Regions from separate parts of the Homo sapiens genome. Here regions 1, 2, 3 and 4 are each linked to region 5. The links are contacts of gene promoters, found by promoter capture Hi-C in blood cells and fetal thymus (Javierre and others, 2016). All regions are on one chromosome and are shown on one strand. Each heading gives the region's core, a stretch centred on a gene start or on the middle of the fragment in contact. The rest is flanking DNA. Distances are from core to core; before and after follow the strand shown. Region 1 overlaps LOC124905126 (a long non-coding RNA gene). Region 2 holds the start of SNU13 (small nuclear ribonucleoprotein 13). Region 3 overlaps XRCC6 (X-ray repair cross complementing 6). Region 4 overlaps LOC101927344 (a long non-coding RNA gene). Region 5 holds the start of CENPM (centromere protein M).

Region 1 (2,972 bases), core at 340-2,839, 420 kb after region 5:
AGTGAGACTCCATCTCAAAACAAAACAAAAACAAAAACAAAAAAACTTACTTCGGCCGGGCACAGTGGCTCACGCCTGTAATCCCAGCACTTTGGGAAGCCGAGGTGGGTGGATCACCTGAGGTCAGGAGTTCGAGACCAGCCTGGCCAACATCATGAAACCCCATCTCTACTAAAAAATACAAAAATTAGCTGAGCATGCTGGTGGGCACCTGTAATCCCAGCTACTCGGGAGGCTGGGGCAGGAGAATCACTTGAACCCAGGAGGCAGAGGTTGTAGTGAGCTGAGGTCATGCCACTGGCACTCCAGCCTGGGTGATAAGAGCGAAACTCTGTCTCAAAAAAAAAAAGTGTCATTTAAATGAACATGCTTGAACATGCTATACCCAGCACTGTGCTTGGCAGTATGAATGACACAGCCTCTGCTTCCATGTTAAATTCCTGGTAACCTGCTGGGCTCTTTCCCTTCCTGGGAATCCATCCCCTGAACCCCCCTCTGCACCCCCATCACAGGGGAAGTTGGAAGCACTCTGCTCAAACCATGCTGCATTGCCCACTCTGACAGTTTGGGGCATTTGGGGTGGATTTTCCTGTGGAAGTCATGGGGAGCACCGTGAAGCAGACTGACTTCCCGGCTGCTGTTCTCTGATGGAGAGGGGGTCCTTGGGATGCCCCCCCAAGTAGGTCCTTTTGATTGAGAGATGATGTATGAGATGGGATGGGGGAGAGGGCTTCCTCTGACAAAGGAAGGTGTAGAAGCTTCTCCCGGAGTTGGGCAGAGAAGGGTTAATCAACTAGAAAAATGCTGAGAGCCTGTCTCCCATAGGCAGCCAGATTGAGGCATGAAGAGGAGGAGCTGGCTTGGTGGTGTGGTGAATGAGTGCTCCCTGCATCTGTCTTCACATGGCCTTCTTATAGGGACATCAGTCATTAGATTTAGGCCCCATCCTAATCCGGTATGACCTCATCTTAAGAAGATTACATTTGCAAAGACCCTATTTCCTAATCAGGTTGCATTCACAGGTATCGGCGGTCAGGACTTCAATATATCTTTCTGGGGGACACAGTTCAACAAGGCTCAATGAGGAAAGAACATTTTGATTAGTAGGGAACATCGAGAGCAGAGGCCCCAGGGCTGCACAAGGTGGATGTCCCTGTCGCTGCCCACTGTTCTCTTGGGACTACACAGATCCTGGTGCCTAGCAGCTGTGGAAACAGAGTTGGGAGGCAGCCGACCCTCTGGACATCAGGCCTTTTCAGCTGACCCTGCCCAGCCTGGTGCCAGAGCAGGGCCCTGCCTGCCTGCCCCTCCTCCCTCTTCCTGCCTGGTCCTCATTCCCACCCACATCCCAAGATGGACAAGGACAATAAAAGCTGTTTCATAAGCAGCTGGTGATTAATTGCCAAGCTAATTAAAGAGGCAGTAATTGCACTCTGATTTCAGAGGAAGGAGTGATGTCTTGGGCAGGGGTGGGTGGTCAGCTTAGGTCTCCCTGACAAGGCAGAGCCAGAAGACAGAAAGGATTTGAAAAGCCAGGAAGAAAAAACAGGTGCACTTTTTTTTTTTTTTTGAAACGGAGTCTCGCTCTGTCTCTCAGGCTAGAGTGCAGTAGTGCAATGTTGGTCCACTGCAACCTCCACCTCCCAGGTTCAAGTGATTCTCCTGCTTCAGCCTCCCAAGTAGCTGGGACTACAGGTGCATGCCCCCATGCCCCACCAATTTTTTTTTTTTTAGACAGAGTCTCACTCTGCTGCCAGGCTGGAGTGCAGTGGCACGATCTCCGCTCACTGCAACCTCCGCCTCCTGGGTTCAAGCAATTCTCCTGCCTCAGCCTCCCTAGTAGCTGAGACTACAGGCATGCACCACCACACCCAGCTCATTTTTGTATTTTTAGTAGAGACAGGGTTTCACTATGTTGGCCAGGCTGGTCTCGAGCTCCTGACCTCAGGTGATCCTCCCTCCTCAGCCTCCCAAAGTGCTGGGACCACAGGCATGAGCCACTGTGCCCATCCGAAGCACCCTCTTTCTAGAGGTGCACCTGTTGGCTGCGCACAGTGGCTCACACCTGTAATCCCAGCGCTCTGGGAGGCCGATGTGGGTGGATCACCTGAGCTCAGGAGTTCGAGACCAGCCTGGCCAACATGGTGAAACCCTGTCTCTACTAAAAATACAAAAATTAGCTGGGTATGGTGGCACGCACCTGTAGTCCCAGCTACTTGAGAGGCTGAGGCAAGAGAATCGCTTGAACCTGGGAGGCTGCGGTTGCAGTGAGCCAAGATTGCACCATTGCACTCCAGCCCAGGCGACAGACAGAGACTCCATCTCAAAAAAAAAAAAAAAAAAAATAGTGGGTGCTTCAATCATAGCTGCACATAGCTGCAATATTTCATTTGACAGAGTCAGATGGGGGACTTAGATGCTTAAGCTTATCTCTGTACTTTTCCATGTCTTCGAAATATTTCATTAACATCCACACACACACAAAAATGGCAGGGGAGAGGTTAAGTGTTTCTAAATTCTAGTTTGGGATTTATAAATGGCTTCAAATACCAGTGTGCCTTACTTTACACAGTGGAGAGGGTCTTAAAATTCTGCGTCAATTGAATCCCGTTGGCCTACCCAGTAAATCTTAACGCCTCTGATGCTCTAGCTTCATTTCTGATTGATTTTCCCTGGCAGAGGTACCAAATTCTTTGCTTTAAGTGTCAGGCTCTCTCTGTCAAGTAGTTAATGACCTATAAAGCACTTAAAACGTACTGGAGGAGATGCGATTTGGAGGCACCCTGCAGTGTATCCTCTCTTATTGTCGGTAATCACCCCTCATTTATTTGCTCTTATTGGTTTGGAATTTGCTATCAGGTTTTCCTAAAGCCAAGCCCACCAGGAATGGTCCAATTCTATGTGGGCCCAGATGGGTGCCGGGATTGGAACCTAGGGGCAGTGGGCAGCCAGTGTGGCCTCTTTCCTCACGA
Region 2 (2,965 bases), core at 132-2,631, 260 kb before region 5:
AACAAAAAAGTTAAACTCAATTTTAAAACCAAACTAGCTTATAAACACTAATTGAAACTTGCTTAGGGTGTATTTATTTGCCTTTCAATTTCTTCAGGGGTTAAATAAATTAACGAATGATATCATACCACCAGCCAACCTAAATCCCTACCTAGCATGATCAGTTTGGTTTCGCTGTACACCAGACAGCCAAAACTTGCAAGGTTTTGATTGAACAACAAATACTGCGTGCTTACTCTGTACCAAGCATCAGGACTAGATGTTTACCATGCTTTATTTCATTTGATCCTCACAACACCCTCATGCACTGTCATCCCCATTTTACAGTTGAGGAAAACTGCAAAGTTCAACCTGAGACCATCCGATTCCAAAACGTTTCAGGGAGCTGCGTTAAAGCGAGCACTGAGTTTGGAAGCTTCAAGTTCTAGGCTCAGCCACGTACTAAGCTTCAAAATGCATGGGAGGAGGTTTGTGGGGAGTGCTACCGCCGGGATCCAAGCTCCACTGGAAGGATTAACTATAGAAGTTACAGTGCTTTACAAATTCTTCCCTCCTCACCAAGTGCCAACCAAAACTACTACGCCAGGACACACGTTTTAGAACTTTCCCTAGATGTTTAAAAGTCAGAGACGACCAAGAGTTTAGAGACGCCGCACGTGGTGCTACCAGACTTCTGGTTTTTGAAGCCACCGCCTTGCAGGAGAAGCCTTTCCTGCACTCCAGGCCGTGAGTCGCGCTCACTTCATGTTCCCCACAGCCCCCAAATGCCAAAGGCTCCTCTAGGTCCCTGGCGCGTGTGACTCGCGGCGGGCACTAAGCGCAGACCCATGGGAGATCTCCTCCTGAACCCCAGCAACGGGGGTGGGGTGAGGTAGGGTGGGTAGGAGAGGTTGATCCGAATCCCAGGGTCCCACGCCATCGTAGATTTCGTATGAAAAGAAACAAGGAAAAAAAAAAGTTGGAGCCAAGTTTTCTTCACCCAACTTTTTGCCCTCTCCCACGTGGGTTGGTCTCTTTCTCCCAGGCTGGGCCATGCCCCCTCCGCTCGCTGCAGGCCTTTTGCCAAGCAAACAGACCGTGCGGCAAAGCAACACAGCTGCGGGGATCCTAAGGTTTCCTGAGTTCTAACCTCGGGCCAGGCTGCTGGGACCCCGCCGCTGCTGGGGTTCTAACTAAGGGCCCGGCGGTTAAGACCCAACGCCGGCGGATGAGACGGCGCAGGCTCTAAGCCTCCATCTAACAGGCTAGGGAGTGAACGCAACCCTGAGTCTCCCGCTTCCCGGTCCCTCGGCCGGCGCACGCACTCACCATGGCTGCGGTTCCGCGGGCTCAGCACTCCTAGGGGAGCGCAGCTGACGTTTCAGAAGCACTCGCGTGCACCGGAAAAACTCACAGAAGCAGCAGCGGAAATGGCCCCGCGCGGCAGGAAGCGAAGGTGACGCTACGCGAGCGAGTGGGCCCCGCCCTCTACGGGGGCACTGGCGCGGAAACTGGCCCTGTGTCGAAGAAGGAACGTACTTTGGCGTTCTTATGAGCTGCCTAGTACAAATTATTGGCAGAAACAATGAATTAAACATTCAAAAAGTAACCCACCGGCCGGCCGCAGCGGCTTATGGCTGTAATCCCGGCACTTTGGGAGGCCGAGGCGGGCGCATCACCTGAGGACAGGAGTTCGAGACCAGCCTGGCCAACATGGCGAAACCTCGTCCCTACTAAAAAATACAAAAATTAGCCAGGCGTGGTGGCGGGCGCCTGTAACCCCAGCTACTTAGGAGGCTGAAGCAGGAGAATCGCTTGAACCCCGGAGGTGGAGGCTACAGTAAGTTGAGATCATGCCACTGCACTCTAGCACTCCAGCTGAGGCGACAGAGCGAGACTCTCAAAAAAAAAAAAAAAAAGGCCGGCCGGGTGCGGTGGCTCCCGCCTGTAATCGCAGCACTTTGGGAGGCTGAGGCAGGCGGATCACTAGGTCAGGAGATCGAGACCATCCTGGCTAACACAGTGAACCGTCTCTACTAAAAATACAAAAAATTAGCCGGGCATGGTGGCGGGCGCCTGTAGTCCCAGCTACTCGGGAGGCCGAGGCAGGAGAATGCCGTGAACCCCGGAGGCGGAGCTTGCAGTGAGCCGAGATCGCACCACTGCACACTGCACTCCAGCCTGGGCAACAGAGTGAGACTCCGTCTCAAAAAAAAGAAGAAAAAAAAGAGGGCCGGGTGCGGTGGCTCACGCCTGTAATCCCAGCACTTTGGGAAGCTGAGGCGGGCGGATCACCTGAGGTTGGGAGTTCGATACCAGCCTGACCAATATGGAGAAACCCCCGTCTCTACTAAAAATACAAAATTAGCCGGGCGTGGTGGCGCATGCCTGTAATCCCAGCTACTCGGGAGGTTGAGGCAGGAGAATCGCTTGAACTTGGGAGGTGGAAGTTGCAGTGAGCCGAGATCGCGCCATTGCACTCCAGCCTGGGCAACAAGAGTGGAAACTCGGTCTCAAAAAAAAAAAAAAAAATTCCAGCCACTAAACAGTTAAGGCCTGGCTCATTATAATTGGCTGACGTCCCTGCCTGCTCAGATATTTAATATTTTGAATAGAACTTTTGGGTAAAAGAGTCTTCAGGGTAACATTTATTTTCCCACCAACACTGATCCTAAGATGGGAAAAGTAATTCCCCCACAGGAAATCAGGATACTGCAAGCAACGAGAAAGGCATGTTGAGTGGTTAAACAAGAATACATGTATTCAATACAGTGTTCATTAAATGTTTGATAATAGAAGGACAGGCAGATCCAAGTATTTCATAGGAAGAAAGAAATCAAGCAGACCGCAGGTTATATCACCCCATCACACATTCAGGGAACTTAATCTTTTCATTCCAGAGGATGGGTTTGTTTAAAACAAGTTCTTCCTCCTAATTACTTTTGAACAATTCCCCAATACTGTCCTTACCTGCACCAAGAGCATG
Region 3 (2,938 bases), core at 427-2,926, 290 kb before region 5:
TAAAAAAAAGTAGCCAAGTGTGGTGGCATTCACTTGTAGTCCCAGCTACTTGATAGGCTACTTGAGCCGGAGAGGTAGAGGCTACAGTAAGCTGTGATCACACCACTGCATTCCAGCCTGGGTGATAGCAAGATCCTGTCTCAAAAAAAAAAAAAAAAAGATGAAGGCTGGGCGCGGTACCTCACGTCTGTAATCCCAGCACTTTGGGAAGCCGAGGTGGGCAGATCCCCTGAGGTCAGGAGTTTGAGACCAGCCTGGCCAACATGGCGAAACCCCATCTTTACCGAAAGTACAAAAATTAGCCGGGCGTGGTGGCGCCTGTAATCCCAGCTATTCAGGAGGCTGAGGCAGGAGAACCGCTTGAACCTGGGAGGCGGAGGTTGCAGCGAGCCGAGATTGCCCACTGTACTCCAGCCTGGGCGACAAGAGTGAAACTCCATCTCAAAAAAAAAAAAAGATGGAAAAAAACATTAAATATTAAATTTATGAACGTATGACATGGACAAACATGTTTCAATTGACGGCAGTCAGGTTTGGTGCTGTCCGAGGTTTCAGGTATCCTCCCGGGTTCTTCAAACATATTCCCCAGGGATAAGGGATCTACTGTATACAGGAAGGGGCACCCCTCCTCCCTTGCAGTCTTCTGGAAACTGCAGAGGGAGTCTGTTAGGCAGATGATAACAAAAACCAGCTGGTGGAGTTCAAGAAATGGGGCCTACGGGGCCCCAGCCCCAGCACCACAGGACATAAAAGGAAGAATTTGGAGCTGAGAAACAAGTGACTGCAACACTTGAAGTCAAATCAAAGAAAATTTATCTCCTTTCTTCAGGCTTCCAGCTGGTCTTTTTACCCTTTGCTGATGATAAAAGGAAGATGCCCTTTACTGAAAAAATCATGGCAACTCCAGAGCAGGTGGGCAAGATGAAGGCTATCGTTGAGAAGCTTCGCTTCACATACAGGTGAGTCAATCTCAGGCTTTCTGGAACTGCCTCCTGAGTTGAAAATCTTATTAGAAACAGCTTGGGCATAGGCCAAGAGAATGGCACTACTCTTTTCAGCAAACTGACAGATTACTACTTGTTATTAATAGTTTTTTGAAAGCCATATAGAGAATGGAACCTTTTATTATGTTGGAGACTCTGGGATTTTGTGGTTTCTCTGTTGTGCTGTACTTAGCCAGATTAGTTGGTTGAACAAATTTGAAAAAATAGCAGGATTCTTATTCGCCCTTCTCCTTGATTGTGTTTGTTATTCCACAATGAGCAAAAGTAAATAAATCTAGTGTAAATTGTTAAAGGCTTAAAAGAATGATTAAGTAATTCAAGTCATTCCCTCTCACATATATAATAGACCAACTCTCAGAGCCTGCATAATGGGACACTAAACGTAATTTTTTTCACATGTCATTTTTAAAAATTTATTATTATTATTATTATTATTATTATTATTATTATTATTATTATTTTGAGACAGGGTCTCTTGTCACCCAGGTTTGATTGCAGTGGTGTTACTGTAGTTCACTGCAGCCTTGACCTCCCTGGGCTCAGGTGATTCTCCCACCTCAGACTCCTGAGTAGCTGGGACCATACCCTTGCACCACCACACCTGGCTAATTTTTGTATTTTTTGTAGGGACGGAGTTTCACCATGTTGCCCAGGCTGGTCTGGAACTCCTGAGCTCAAGCCATCCGCCTGCCTCAGCTTCTCAAAGTGCTGGATTACAGGCATGAGCCAGGGTGCCCAGGCTGGTTTGCTTTCTAAGTTGACTTGAGACAAAGTCTTGCTCTGCCATCCAGGCTGGAGTACCGTGGCACGATCATGGCTCACTGCAGCCTCGATCTCCTGGACTCAAGCAGTCTTCCTGCCTATGCCTCCTGAGTAGCTGGGACCACAGGCGTGCACCAACATGCCTGGCTGATTTTTAAATTTTTTGTAGAGACAGGGTCTCACCATGTTGTCCAAGCTGGTCTTGAACTGCTAGACTCAAGCATTCCGCCTACCTTGGCCTACCAAAGTGCTGGGATTACAGGCATGGGCTACTGCACCTGACCTCAACTGTTTTACTTGGGGTGTTTTTCTCAGCTCACCCCGGACCTGTAGTATCTCAGGTGGTTTTATTCTAATTTTTTCAATGTTTAAATTGTCATGTTTCAGTTGAGTTACATTATTGTTTTAACAGAAGTGACAGCTTTGAGAACCCCGTGCTGCAGCAGCACTTCAGGAACCTGGAGGCCTTGGCCTTGGATTTGATGGAGCCGGAACAAGCAGTGGACCTGACATGTAAGGAGGTTGAATAGAGTAGTTCTTTTCATGGGAGGCTTTCTTACTGGTTCCACTCTGCACCAGTAATTTGGGTGCATTTCCCAGTCCTCTCTAAACACTTAACCTCATTCCCCAGACCCCCTCTGTTTGGAAGCTTTTCCAGACCAGCTTAAACAGCCAGGGAACAGATTTGGCTGGTTCCATAGTGAGAGGAGGAGAGTGTCAGGCTTCTGAGACCTGCCTCTGCACTAGGCCGCCCTGTGACTACATGCTGGTGAAATTTAAAAAATAATATAAGAGGCTGGGCACGGTGGCTCATGCCTGTAATCCCAGCACTTTGGGAGGCCGAGGCGGGTGGATCACGAGGTCAAGAGATTGAGACCATCCTGGCCAACATGTCTCTACTCTGTCTCTACTAAACTCTGTCTCTACTAAAAATACAAAAAATTAGCTGGGTGTGGTGGCGTGTGCCTGTAGTCCCAGCTACTCGGGAGGCTGAGGCAGGAAGATCGGTTGAACTCAGGAGGCAGAGGCTGCAATGAGCCGAGATTGCACCACTGCACTCCAGCCTGGTGACAGAGCGAGACGCTGTCTCAAAAAACAAAACAAAAACAAAAAATCAATAAATAATTTAAGAGGAAATAAGTGGTGGATTTGGGTTTAGAATCCAGCGACTC
Region 4 (2,700 bases), core at 118-2,617, 490 kb after region 5:
ACATGTACAGATTTTCAGCTGCATTCAGAGTTCAGCAGCTTTCGGGCGGTTCCTGGAAGCCCGACGTCATTTATAATCCGGTTTCTGAGTGGGAACGGCTTTCTCTGGGAGACAGCTCCTTGGGAAGTTAGAGACTTCCTGCACTTATTGGACTCGAACATCCATTCTGTACAAAATGCCCCGCAACACTGAGGAGATGCTGTTTTGTTTTTGTTTGTTTGTTTGTTTTTTCGAGACGGAGTTTTACTCCTGTTGCCCAGACTGGAGTGCAATGGTGCGATCTTGGCTCACTGCAACCTCCGCCTCCCGGGTTCAAGTGATTCTCCTGCCTCAGCCTTCTGAGTAGCTGGGACTACAGGCAAGATGCTGTTTTAGGACCAGAAATCTCCCAGGGGTGTGCAGATCAACAGTAATCCCAGTCTGCCCTCCATCGTCGGAATAGAATCAGAGGGAGGGAAAATCCGCCTTTGGATCTCTGGACCATGATCTTTCCAGCAGGTCACAGGTGACCAAAGGCTTCACTTGCAGAAGCCCCCTCCCCAGGAAACTCCCCTGGGGCAAAACGAAAGTGTTTTGGGCGTTTTTGTCTGCCTGGCAGGGAGCCTGTGCCTGAGTCACTGTTTCTCTTGAGCTTCCCTTTTCTTTTCTTTCCTCCCGGTGTCTGCTGATTTTGTGTCAAACAAGGAGCATGGGGCCAGGCCATCTCTGAGCTGCCCGTGGGACGGGGACTTGGGCACTTGCCAGGAGCGGCTGGCCTAGGAGTGGGCGGGAGGCCCTTGGTCACCCACCCCAGGGCCTGGCTTCAGGTGGCCACAGCTTTCTGACCCCCTTCTGGGCACTGGGCCACCAGCTGCTGGGCATGGCCAGTGAGTGAGGGTGAGGGCAAGATGAGGAAGAGGTGGCGTAAGGTGGGAAAGGATTACTTGCCAGACGCTTGGCTGAGTCTGTTCTCTAAGCCATGCTGCGAGGCAGGTGCTATTGTGTCTGCATTTTGCGGATGAGGAAACTGTGGCTCAGAGAAGGGAAGTCACTGTTTTAAGGTGAAGTGGCCAGTGGAGGTGGGGCTAGGGTTCGAATCCTAGGATCAGGCACACTGCCTGGGGATAACCTCTAGAGGTGTCTGTGCTTCCCAGCTAGACCGGAGCTCGCTGCAGCCCCTCACTTTTTCCCCGGTCCTGCTTCAGGCCCCACTTCCTCTCTGCAGGTGCTTAGGCCGAAAATCAGGAATCTCTTGAATGAATGCATGAAGGTGGAGCCCTTTCCCTTAATGCGCAGGTGAAAAGGGCACCTCGGTGGATTCTACTAAATTTAATAGAAGGTAAGTAGGACCTGGGTCACACCGGCTTGTGGAAAGTGGAGGTCAGAATCTGAGAGGCTGCGTTTGGCACTAGGTGGGAAGGAGCTGGCTAGGGGGCAGAGGAAAGAGGGCAGGTGGCTTCGGATCCGGGGTCTCTCTTTCGTTCAACTCCGTGGGTGTTAAGGGAGCCCCATGGCGGCCTGGGCAAGCGCTGAGAGCACCTGGAAAGAGAACACCCCGCTGGACCCTCCTCTCCCCTCACTTCCAGTTGCACAGGCGAGGCCCAGCCACCTGGACGCAGGCCCAGAAGCCCAGGAGGCGGGCTAGGGGAAGGAGGGGTTTCCTGGGTCACCAGCCCCTCCCCACCGGGTCCCTGGTTCGCAGGAGGCCTCGAGGCTCGGTCCCCTGCCCGCCCCCTCTACTCTGTTTCCCCACTGCCCACAGCCTGGCCTGGTAAACAGCCCTTTCCCTGGGAATTTCTCCCCAGCATCTCCGGCAGGTGTGGATGGGGGTTTGTGGCCACCCAGCCTCCCCTTCTCCAGGCCAAGACATCCCTGGTCCTGTTTGTCCTCCCAACATGGCTTCCAGACCCTTCTCCGTGGGGGACCCCAGCCTGCATTTCCGGTTCAGATAGGGTCTGACCAGGATGGAGGTTGGAACTGTGGTCCCCTCACCATGGACACATGGCTCCTGGGAGACCCCTGGCTCCTTTCGGGTCCCCCATTTCCTTCCAGCTGGGGTCAGGGCCAGCCAGCTGCAGGATACCCTCTGCTGTGCCCCTTCTGGGCCCCAGGAGGCCCTTCCTTCCTCTTGGGATGAGGGCGCCGTCCCTACATGCTTGTCTTGTGGGTGCCTGGTGATGCTGAACCACCTGGGCCTCCCTCATGGCGAGGCCCTTCCTTCCTCGCAGGGACCCATTCGGGGTGGCCCTTAGGAAGGGAGCTGTTTTGGAAGACCCCTTGACTGCCCTTCTCCTCTGTCTCATCCTCATTCCAGGACCTTGCTCAGTGGCTGAGATTGTATACTCGTCATTTTGATTTAGAAAAAGACATGATCAGGTTCTGGGATCTATTCTCCCTAAGGATGTCTGGCCAGGGTAATAGCCCTGCACTGAGCAGAAGGCATGGAGACCACAGGGTGGGCCACAGAGCAGGAAAGATCGAGGGAAGGGGCAAAGAATGGCAGAGGTGAAGGAATCCAGAGTACTCCAGGTGCTGCACACACACCAGACCTCACAGCCCCCTGTGGAGCTCAGATTATTCCCTTATTTTTCTTTTTTTTTTTTTTTTTGAGATGGAGTTTCCCTCTTGTTGCCCAGGCTGGAGTGCAAAAGTGCAATCTCCGCTCACCACAACCTCTGCCTCCCAGGTTCAAGCTATTCTCCTGCCTCAGCCTCCCGAGTA
Region 5 (2,824 bases), core at 41-2,540:
TCCTGAGCCAGGCCTGCCTGAGCCCTGACTGCCCCTTCCTCTGGCTCTCACCTGTATTTGCTGTGAAGATTAACCACAAACACGATCAGGTCAATTCGGGGCCGATTCACACTGGAGGGCAAAGGGAGGGACTTTGCCAAGTGGCTGAAAAACAGGAAATTGCAGGACTCAAGATATCCGTACCCCCCTCATAGCGACCGTTTAAATGCTGCCCTTCATGTGGAAAGAGGCCGTCAAGGGCTCCCCACCTCATCCTAGCCACCCGAGGCTCTTGTGGCCACGACTCCTTGGGCCAGCACAGAGGCAGGACAGGTCCGGTCCTATTCAGATTACTCCTGTCTGATTCCCTCTGCCAGAAACGGGCTCTGTTTAGTCACCACCTCGGCAAGGGGAGGTTGGGATATAAGACGGCATGGGACTAGCCAGCTACGCTGCATGCTGGGAGAAGGACCAGCCTCAGAGGAGGGGGCGCTGGGCTTCGGAGTTTAGCAGCTAGGACCGAATCCCTCTGGAGTGAGAGACACGTGGGCCCAGGCCACAGCCGCGGCTACTTACACCTTCAGCTCGGAGGCGCAGTCCTCTTTGAGCATCGAGTCCGCCAGCTGCTGCAGAAGAGCATCCTCCGTGCCCACCAGCTGCGCAGGGAGAGAGAGCGGACAGTCGAGCCCTAGGCACAGCACCCCCTGGGGAGGGCCTGGCCCTTCGACCCACTCCCGGGGGGATCGGGACACCGCCAGCAGGCGGCTCGGAGGACATTTCCCGAGAAGTGGACCCCGCGAAGCGGCACGGGCTGGGGGCCTGAGGTTTGGACCCGCTGCAGGCCTGTGGGCACCGCACTCTCTACTACCCGACCCTCGCTCCCACCGCCGGCCTCTCCAGGAGGCCAGACCCCCAGACGCGGGAAAACCAATTCCAGGCGCGGGAACTCGCCAATCAGAAGCTGGGAAAGGGTCCGCCGAGCACCTATTGGTGGGTGCGTCCCTCAACCTCAGAGAGCGGCTACTCCAATTGGTTCAGAGCATGGCTCTCCGCCTATTCCCCGCCCCCGCCACGGTAGCGCGCGCTGGCTTGGCGCCTCAGAGAGCTCAGTTGACCTAGTGGCTGAAGCACCGCCCAGGAGGAAAAACCGGCGGGGGAAGCAGGGCCGCCTGCACCTACCAAGATGGTGGCCGTGTTCAGGCCGGGCAGCTTGTCCAGGGGCCTCAACACCGACATCACAGCCGCAGGACCAACCGTTGCTCCTGCGGTGCGCGCCGATCTTTCAAACCGCCCTGAGTCCAGCCCCTAGAGCGCGGCCTGGGGGCACGTGCCTCCTTATAGGCGGGGCTTCGCGGGACGGGACGGGGCCTCTTAAAGGAACCGAACCTTTATCTCCTTTTCTGAGGGGCGTTCCAGCGCTACCCGTGGAACACGTGGTGGACAGGCCTTTGGTTCCACGCTCCACAGTAAGCAGGTTTTTAGTGATTCCTTTGTTCACTTTCATTCATTCATGCTCATACACAGTACTTTTTTTTTTTTTTTTTGAGACAGAGTCTCGCTTTGTGGCCCAGGCTGGAGTGCAATGCGCGCAATCTCGGCTCACTGCAACTTCTGCCTCCCGAGTTTAAGCGATTCTCCTGCCTCAGCCTCCCAAGGAGCTGGGACTACGGGCGCGCGTCACCACGCCCGACTTATTTTTTTATTTTTAGTAGAGACGGGGTTTCTCCAAGTTGCCCAGGCCGGTCTCAAACTCCTGGCCTCAAGTGATCCCGCCTCGGCCTCCCAAAGTGAGTGCTGAGATTACAGACGTGAGCCACCGTGCCTGGCCCTTTTTTTTTTTTTTTTTTTGGAGCGTCACTTTGTTGCCCAGGCTGGACTATAGTGACACGATCATAGCTCACTACAGCTTCAAACTCCTGGGCTCAAGTCATCTTCCTGGCTTAGCCTCCTGAGTAGCTGGAACTACAGGCAAGTGCCACCATGGGGATCTGGCCATGTTGCCCAGGTGGGTCGTAAACTCCTGGCCTCAAGCAGCCCTCCTGCTTCAGCCTCCTGAGTAGCTGGGACTACCGCTGCACACCAGCAGGCCCTGCCAATTGACTGCTTTTACAGTGAGTGGTAAGCATGCTGTTCTTTGTCCAATGGGAGACTTTACCTCATCTTTCAAGGTTCCTTGCTGCAAACACAGCCTGAGTACAGAGCTGTCAGGGTCTTGCTTTCTTGACATACCCAGCAAGAACATGCAGGGACGCTCAGGGCCCATAGCAAACTGGTTCTGCCAACAGTTATATAATAACTTGTTCACTGTCTCTACATCTAAAATGTAAGAAACAAGAGGTTAGAGACTTTGTCACTTTGTATGTCCAGCACTCTAAAAGTCCCTGGTACATCGTAGTTAATAAATATTTGTTGAGTGAATGGATGGATTACATTCATCCATTCATTCTCAGCAGTCATTCATTCATCATTTCCTATGCCCAGACCCAATGCCCTACCCTAGGAAGTCAGTTGAATCAGACATTATTGATTAACTTAGTTTGATGGGGGTGGGATAGACAATGATAACAGTGTGTTCATTGTTGTAATAACTGGGAGAGCAGAGACACTGTCTAGCCTAAATCCTTCTTACTGCAGACTAAACTAACTGTGTCTTGCTCAGAAAGATCAGGACGTAAATGGCCCCATAGAGCCACTGCCCTCAGCACAGATACGGCTTTCATTCCTCATGGCATGGGGTGTGGAGAGGACTTCCTGAAAGTCAAGCAGTAGTAGGCACTATGACAAGAAAATAAAGTAAGCTGAACGCCGTGGCTCATGCCTATAACCCAGCACTTTGGGAGACCGA

Evidence for each region. The method cuts DNA at HindIII sites, captures the fragments that hold promoters and counts their contacts. A CHiCAGO score of 5 or more calls a contact.
Region 1: a contact is called between a fragment that was not itself captured here and the fragment with the promoter of CENPM in region 5, in 1 of 17 cell types (endothelial precursors). The highest score is 5.1, in endothelial precursors.
Region 2: the fragment with the promoter of SNU13 here is called in contact with the fragment with the promoter of CENPM in region 5 in 11 of 17 cell types (endothelial precursors, total CD8 T cells, naive B cells and 8 more); the score reaches 11.0 in endothelial precursors.
Region 3: a contact is called between a fragment that was not itself captured here and the fragment with the promoter of CENPM in region 5, in 5 of 17 cell types (total CD4 T cells, naive CD8 T cells, megakaryocytes and 2 more). The highest score is 5.8, in total CD4 T cells.
Region 4: a contact is called between a fragment that was not itself captured here and the fragment with the promoter of CENPM in region 5, in 10 of 17 cell types (activated CD4 T cells, total CD4 T cells, naive CD8 T cells and 7 more). The highest score is 10.4, in activated CD4 T cells.

The regions. Positions count from the first base shown.
Region 1 is chr22:42,370,440-42,373,411 of GRCh38, forward strand. LOC124905126 (a long non-coding RNA gene) reads left to right here. Exons shown (of 2, transcript XR_007068114.1): 2 at 1,023-1,387. Among named protein-coding and RNA genes, the nearest start is that of LINC01315, 2.7 kb to the left of the region's middle. The HindIII fragment of the contact is 1,667 bases long and covers 757-2,423 here.
Region 2 is chr22:41,687,486-41,690,450 of GRCh38, forward strand. SNU13 (small nuclear ribonucleoprotein 13) reads right to left here and starts at 1,382. Exons shown (of 3, transcript NM_001003796.2): 1 at 1,309-1,382. The coding sequence starts at 1,311. It also overlaps the pseudogene C22orf46P. RefSeq lists enhancers at 582-751, 1,302-1,481 and a silencer at 863-1,062. The HindIII fragment of the contact is 2,689 bases long and covers 445-2,965 here.
Region 3 is chr22:41,656,074-41,659,011 of GRCh38, forward strand. XRCC6 (X-ray repair cross complementing 6) reads left to right here. Exons shown (of 13, transcript NM_001469.5): 10 at 830-959; 11 at 2,179-2,279. Among named protein-coding and RNA genes, the nearest start is that of SNU13, 31 kb to the right of the region's middle. The HindIII fragment of the contact is 1,473 bases long and covers 941-2,413 here.
Region 4 is chr22:42,439,287-42,441,986 of GRCh38, forward strand. It overlaps LOC101927344 (a long non-coding RNA gene), which reads left to right. Exons shown (of 6, transcript NR_188414.1): 2 at 1,205-1,318. Among named protein-coding and RNA genes, the nearest start is that of NFAM1, 8.2 kb to the left of the region's middle. RefSeq lists enhancers at 1,308-2,307, 1,351-1,430. The HindIII fragment of the contact is 3,228 bases long and covers 1-2,700 here.
Region 5 is chr22:41,945,862-41,948,685 of GRCh38, forward strand. CENPM (centromere protein M) reads right to left here and starts at 1,291. Exons shown (of 6, transcript NM_024053.5): 1 at 1,159-1,291; 2 at 556-635; 3 at 52-144. The coding sequence starts at 1,215. It also overlaps a transcript of SMIM45 not described here. RefSeq lists an enhancer at 1,095-1,304. The HindIII fragment of the contact is 15,549 bases long and covers 1-2,824 here.